2 separate regions of the Homo sapiens genome follow, and region 1 is linked to region 2. The links are contacts of gene promoters, found by promoter capture Hi-C in blood cells and fetal thymus (Javierre and others, 2016). All regions are on one chromosome and are shown on one strand. The core of a region is centred on a gene start or on the middle of the fragment in contact, and the rest is flanking DNA. Distances in the headings are between cores, read along the strand shown.

Region 1 (3,980 bases), core at 1,131-3,630, 260 kb before region 2:
CAGCTTGGAGGAACTATGGAAGATTATCAGGTCCTTTTCTGCCAAGGGAATTACAAGGAATTTAAAAAGCCATTTCACCTCAGATTTGTGAAGTGGAAAATACTTTAATACTAAATCAACAACTTAACTCAGTGCAATATGCTGTACATTTTTGGACATGTGTTTATTCTTATGACATCATGAACAGAATTTTCCTTTCCTGATTGCATTTCTATATTATTTCTAATAGCCTTTGTTAGGTTGAGGTGACTTTCTTTCTAAAACCTGTCCAAAGAATCAAGGATTTACAAATTTAATTATCTCCCAGAATGTACTGTATGATTTTGATCTAAAAACATGTTAGGTTTTAAATTTCACGATAGGCTAGGAAAAAAGGAATAAAAAGTTCAAAGTGTTCCGCATTTGGAATCAGTAATTTTGTATTCCAATGACAAATGTTTAGTCTGCAGTGCCAAAACGAGGTGAAGCCTTCCATTGATTCACTCTCTATCCAAAATGCACCTATTACCTCTTCTCTGTAATAGAGACAGGTCTCTAGAGCTTATTTTCATTATTCAACTTGCAACCTTTTCTTTACCAAGGATAATTTTTTCAATATTCATCATTTAATATTCAATATTATTTCTCCTTCTAAAATATCCATTTTTTTTTCTACTTGCTATCTTTGTAATTCCACTTTTGTGAAACTGAGTTCAAAGCCTACATCACCATGATCTGCCTTACCTAACTGCTTTATGCCCTGGACCTCTTTATGCCCTGGACTCTTTCTATAGACAGCCCTTGACTCACATTCTTTTATCCAGTAACTGCCTCCTATTCTACACATGTGCTTTAAAGCTGCCTATTCTTCCATCTCTACAAGCATCCAAGTCATTCCTCTCCCATCATTTAGATGATGAAAGAGCGGGGTCTTTCCTTTGTTCCCAGCGGTCAAGAACCCTTGTGTCAATGTCTCATATATAATTGAAAAATTTTCTTCTACAATGAGCTTAATGTTGTAGCTGTGTTGTTATTTTAATTCTGTTATTATTCATATGTCTAAGACATATGTGTTAATGATAATTAAGTTTTGCTATTTCTCTACAACACTGCCTTGGGAGTCATGATTTAAGACTATCATTTTGACAACATGACCATAAAATCATGAGTTATAAGTACCTCTTTAAAAAATTCTTACTTCCAAGATCCAAATTAATGATTTCTATGTATGTGTATAGCATATATATATTTATATAGTATATGTATATAAAATCTATATGTATATATATTTAAATTATTGTGTGTATATAAATCACACATAACAAATAAAACTGACTTATTAAATAAGGCATGCATAGTACAACAGCTAGCTTCATTTTTCAGCATCCAAATAAATCATCTATTTACTGATCACACACTATATGCAAAATACTATGTTTTGAATATGCAGCTATGAATTACCTCCTCTTTTCTTGTCTCACGTCCTTTCTGTACAAACCAGATAACTTTCGCTTGTAAAGATCGTGGGGTACATTCCAGCAAAGTACTGTTGTTCTCTATGCCATAAGCCAGATGTTCTTCAGTCTTATCCAAAGCATCCCCTACAACAGGAACATTAATGCCATCTTTGAGACTTAGATTTTATAGGTAAATAAATTTTTCAAACATTATTTAGATCCCTGCAGTAACATGATTAACTCATTACTTATTGCTTATTTCTGCAAAAGGTAATTTAAAGGAATTATTTAGAAAGAGTGGCATACCAAAATTTAGGCATGAAACAAGCAAGCAGGCTATGGGGTGGGACAGAAGTAGGTAACTGAGAGTCTGGTTCCAAAGGATGGGACAGGATAGTCAAGGCAGTAAGAAGCATCAGTGTTAAACTCATGGAAAGTCTATTGCAACCTCTATTGAGGGAAGAGAAAGGGAACACCAAAGCACAGGACAAAATTCGTGGATACAAACAAAAGCAGACACCAGAAATGCAGGCAAAATGCCACTACATAAACACAAATGTGGATTATATCTTGACAAGGGATTGCATTTATCTGGGTGTTGGGCTGCTGTAGTGAGAAGAGAATATGAGACTGAACCAGGGACTTTGTGAAATAAAGCTTGATTATAATCTGTGTCTTGGACCAGAAAGGCTCTTACTGGACTTGAACTCAAATTTGCACACAGGCAAGTACACTTAGCTGCAGTAGGGAATAAAAGGAAGCAGGATTACTCTCTCTTTATTTTAAACTAAGACAAATTCAATAACTGGACCTCTGGATTTATTTTTCCTATGCCTGAATCCTACTCACCTTCAGAACTGACCCCTAAACTTCCCTAAGATGAAGGTCCTACTTTTCTCTTGCTAGTATTCCCAGAGGCTTGAGTCCTCCACTGAATCCTGAGTCAGTCTGGGGTCCAACAAATTGATGCTGGAGCACAGTCTCTGGCTCTGCGTATAGCCACCGCTGGTTTCTCATTTATGGTGTCCCTTCTTATTATTACTTCCTAGTGAGCTCAGTGACACTAAATACAGCCTATTCAACAGTCACTACCATAATAGAAAGAGTCAGGAGTTAACAGAGAAGTTCTTTCTTATATTCCTTACTTTTGCCTAAAGATGAGATTTCCTCCATTCCTAACCCATCAGTTACCACCACCCTATCACCTTTATTGAACCACCAACCCCAGCCCTAAGCTTGGTCAACTTAGATAAAAGAGTAAAAGCTTTTTCACTTTATCTATCCCAAAGCTTAGGAGATGACTTGATAGAAGTAATACCAGTTGATAAAATCACCAGAAGGTACGTAACATGGTGAAGATAGTCCCCAGTATGAGATAAAGAGGTAAGTCATAAGAGTCACTGTGGCATCAACCACCTAAAGTATGCAGCATTCTTGTTCTAGGGTTTCTTTGTTTTAATAATTAGTTTAATAATAAAGCTTGGTGGTAGCACATAAAACTTATTTTCCTAATCAGGTAAAAATTAGTCAAATTTTCAAAATTTTAACTACATGTCAGAGAAAAAGAATACTTATTACATTGTTCTAGTATACATGAATCACAAAGAAAAAAAGGACTCTTTTTAAGAAGTTTGTAGTTTATGTTCAATGTATTCTCTGAGTAACCCAGAACAACTGATTTTCTATGGATTACCAACAAACTGTTGTCCAAAGCACTGCTGAGCTGCATTTCCATGTCGAACATCTTGTCTCCGGAAACGCCTGAAAGAAAGTAAATGCATTTAGATGTTCATTTTTTCAATTTTCCAGACTTTAAAATGCAGCCAATTGCATTTCATATACAAGTAGTATTCTGCTACTGAAAAAAATGATCATTCATATGAAAAAAGAATAAAATCCAAGTTTCATAGTTTTTCATATTTCCATTATATGTTCTTCAGTAGCTAAGATCTATGTTACCCTGTTCTTTATTTACATAATGTTGAATTCTGGAAACTCAAACAACAATGGAATGTATTTCTCTTTACTTTTTGTTAAAAATTTAGTTCAACAAGAAATCTTCTAGTTTGAGAATGTCTTGAATGGTAAGGTATTTGAGCAGATAAAGACAATGGGATTTGAAGTAAAGTATTTATTGAGTACAAAACAGTTATTTTGAGTATAAAACTCCCATATATAATAAAGTGCAAATGAAAAAGGTGTTAAAATCCAAATAGTTTGTTCTATAGCCATTATAATCAATTAGTACAAATAGAATTTCTAACAATAAGACATAAACTAATAATATACTGTAGTCAGCTTACTTTTATTCAGATATAACATTGCCTCTATTCAATGTGATAGTGTGTTTTTCATGTTTAGCAGAATTTTGTGCATCTAGTGGGACTCAAGAAATATTAGTATTTTCCCCCTCAATCTGCCTCGTATAATTAGAGTCATTTCTAGTATTGTTTTAATTTCATAGATTGTTTAGATATATAACTGAAAAAAATACAATATTCTGTATCTGCGGAAAAATTCCAGAATATATATGTTTATATATAT
Region 2 (3,833 bases), core at 196-2,695:
TATTTAAACATTTGCTGTTAGATCTTCATTAAGGCAATATAAATTTACACTACAAATGCTAGTGAATACTAATACTTTAATCCATATTAGCCATTTTACAAGCATTGTCATAAACTATTTTCCTTTGCCACACATGAAAAAATTCTAATAATCAATTCAACTGGAAAACTAATTTATATTAGTTGTTAATCATTTTAATTACATGATGATGACAGTTATGGGTAGGGCATCATTTTTCTCCTCGGGATTTTTATTTTCTCCTCTTACCTCCATTATGGAAACAAAACAAAACAAAAACAAAAAGAACAAATTGCACCCCTATTTCTATAGCCCTTTCCCAGCATCCTTGTTTCTCATATGCATAAACTGATATTTAAATATCTACTGTTAACTTGGTGGATTCAGCCTCTCAAGGCTATTTTCAACCTGCTTCCTCCCTTCCTGTGTTCCGCGGGCTAGTGAGTGAACTCCTTATTGATAAAATCCAATGTTTACAGACAAAAATAACATCTCTAAGTTGACATGTGATTTTGCACTGTTTTCAGATGAGGTGAGTATGACACATTAATCAGAGGTACTTAGAATTTTAGGTCAGTTTTGCAATAAATTTTTCAGGTGCATTTTAAAGGTCTTTGAAGACCATAAGCCTATGTTAATGTTAAACGACTTTTTTTTTCTTTTTTCTTTTTCTTTTTTTTTTTTTTTAAACAAAAGGATCTGGAAAGGTAACCTACCTTTATGTGACAGGCGTAACCGGGGGTGGGTAGTATCAGCTGTATGACCTCCTGTCCAAAGCTCCAGTAAGTAACCCCACAGGAGCAAGGTGATAATGTGCCCCGCGGATGCCATGCTGCCGTGTTCACCGTCCAAGCCCTCGCTCCTCACTTTAAGGAGGGTCTGAGTTTTACTTAGGACTTCCCTCCAGGGGCAGCGTGCGAGAGGCTTTGTCAGAAATCGAACGCGTTGTCATCAGAAAGCACAGTTCCGAAGTGCCATTTGTCAGGCTGTATTTGGCTATGTAAAACCTTTCTTTCCTCGGGACAGTTGTTTATAAGCCGGGAGCAAGAGGACATTCCAAAGAGTGAGTCTTCAGAGCCATGTCCTGTCTAGAGCGCTCTTCAGCAACTACGCCGGTAGATTCAGGAAGAAGCTGTATTTTTCAGTCACTTGGGCAAAGCTGTTCATTCAGAAAAAAAAAAAAAAAAGAGAGAAAAAAACAAAACCGAGCACACGCACTCCCTTCTCCCGTGGAGGTCCTCTCTTCGGGCTCCTGGAAGCCTCTCAGAAGTCAGCCTCTTGCACTGACTTGCCAAACTGCTAGTTTTAATTCACCTTTCACCTTGCTAATTAAAAACAAGAAGTGCCATTCCCTCTAGGAGTCGCAGGATCCACCCAGCAGGGATGCAGTCTGTCAGTGGCTGTTTACAGGAAAGTTCAGGCAGGGTTGAGCAGCGTACTTGCTGTTTCTAGGAAGTATTTCTGGTCCACGTGCCTCGCTCCCATCCTCCCTCCCAGTCATAACCAGCCCCACGTTACTCAGCAGCAGGAGAGAAGTCCACATTTTGATGGGGGAAATGGGGAGTTCGGGAGGGGTGATGACATAGACTGATTATTTAAGAATAGGTGACAGACAAGGATGTGGCATCAGAAAGCGCTTTTAAATTCTTACCAAGATAAATTGACCTAAGTTGAATAAATCCAACTTCTTTTGAAAATAATCTATTTGTAACCATCCAGAATCCAAATTCTGTTTTTCACTGTTGCCATAAGGTTTTTTTCAAAATTAAGTCTTTTTCTATTGCTTATATCTTAGGGATGTTATTTTTAAACTCTTTTAAGAAAAGTGTGTTTCAAGAGCCTGAAAAAAAAAAGTTCATCTGTGACTGTCTCATAAATTTGATAGAAATGATAAATTATTTACTTAAGCAAATTGGTCAAATGAAATTAAAGGCAAATCCTTTGTCCTAAAGCAATTCCTAAATTTTACTTCAAATTTAGGAATGTTGAAGTAATTTCCCCCAGGTAAGGTAACTGGCAAAGTTGAGATTCACCACCCAAGGGATTTCTATAAAGCAGGTATTAGAAAACTTAGGATGTGCAATACCTTAGGATTCAACTGCTATGGACTTCCAGAGTTGATTTTCCAAGGCACTGTGTTTGTGTAAATAAGCTTAACACAATAGGTCAACTTTACAATCTACCTTCAATCAATCTCAAAAACTAAGCCAAACACTCAGGAGCTGTTGGCATGGAAATGAATGGTATTATGTTAAGATACCAATAAACTTGAATAGATATTTGATTTGATAGTGGAGAGTTAAATGGTAAACACTGATCTCAACTATGATAACTTTTTCTTATTCTGTATTTTAAATGCTAATAGTTAAAAACTTTTTGAGAATTATGTTTTAAAATCACGAAACTATAACAAAAAGATAACATGTGTCACCCTGATATTTTTGCATTATATAGAAGCATATGTACAGCCAGGCATTCTCTACCCATTTTTCTAATCATGAGATGTTCTTGTACAAGCAGAGTATATTTAGCAAAATGTAAATGTCACTGGACATTATAAATAATTAGATTTCCAAGGTCTACAAAAGATAGCAAACTCTAAACATTATTTAACAGTAAAATGACATGAAGTTATTTAGAGACTTTTAACCTGGAATGCTTGCATATTTTAAAAGCCAGTCTGATGAGCTACAGACCTAAAGGTTGCTCTAAATGTGATACATTGTACCTTCAAAATTCTCTTTTGCTTTCTTCTAGGATGGAAACAAATGACAAAATAAATAGCAGCTCTTATATGTGTTATCTAATAGTAGGATTATAGGAAAAGTAAATGTGGTGCCTACACCTTTTATTGCAAATTCATGGCTACTCTCACATAGCTGAAATTCTACTTAAGATTGCATAGTGCCTGTCCTAACTCTACTATAGAACTGAGACAATGTGAGACATTACAATCATTTCATTAGTACACAAAATATGCACCTCTAAAGTGTTGACAAGAGAATATATGTTATGAATGCCAAGATCTGTCTTTGGTTTTACATCTCATCCTTCAGATTAAGTTGGAGCAATTTAGAAGTAAATGCCAGAATAATGGGTTGTTTAGATTCCTCAAAATGTGCTTTGGCTTATCTGCCAGTTGTCAATGTCCTTACTTATTTCTTTTAACTACTCTTTATGTCCTTTTACCTTTATCTTTATCCTATAGAAAATATATAGATGATGCCAAAAAATGACTGTTAAGAAAACTATCTATAGTCTCAGTTTCCCCTATGTGGCATTAGCAATGGAATAAAGAGTCTTTGGGACCAAATTAGTCACTTACATCATAAAATAAAACAAGAAGAATCCTCAGAAGTAGAGTCATCAAATAGCTCATCATCTAAACAAGACTTTTTTTGAGAATAAAAGAGGCTTCTATTCATAATTACACACAAATCAATAATACTATAGACAAATCACAACATCAAAATCTGAATCCTTGGGAGCCATTTCTAGATACTCTTGGGAAACATGGAAATAGAAAATTAAAAACAATAACAACAACTGACTCACCACCAACAGTAAGGGAAGAGCTTTAGTGGACTGAAAAACTTTGGAGTTACCAACAATATCAGGTGATGTTACTGTATTTGATTTGAGAGGATCCAGGCTAGCAGTTTGAACAATATCAGACAACAAGGAAAACCAGGGGAGAAGATAAATGCCAATTAGAAAGGAATTGATTGCCAGGTCAAGGGTTTTATTCCAAAATCTCTCATTCTTGCTAGTCTTACATCATTGTATGAAGAGCAATCTCAGTCTGGTAGAAAAAG

The links. The method cuts DNA at HindIII sites, captures the fragments that hold promoters and counts their contacts. A CHiCAGO score of 5 or more calls a contact.
Region 1: a contact is called between a fragment that was not itself captured here and the fragment with the promoter of SEMA3E in region 2, in 1 of 17 cell types (megakaryocytes). The highest score is 5.8, in megakaryocytes.

Annotation. Positions count from the first base shown.
Region 1 is chr7:83,383,854-83,387,833 of GRCh38, forward strand. SEMA3E (semaphorin 3E) reads right to left here. Exons shown (of 17, transcript NM_012431.3): 15 at 3,130-3,197; 16 at 1,441-1,580. Among named protein-coding and RNA genes, the nearest start is that of PCLO, 220 kb to the left of the region's middle. The HindIII fragment of the contact is 578 bases long and covers 2,092-2,669 here.
Region 2 is chr7:83,647,694-83,651,526 of GRCh38, forward strand. SEMA3E (semaphorin 3E) reads right to left here and starts at 1,446. Exons shown (of 17, transcript NM_012431.3): 1 at 735-1,446. The coding sequence starts at 849. The HindIII fragment of the contact is 2,466 bases long and covers 1-2,168 here.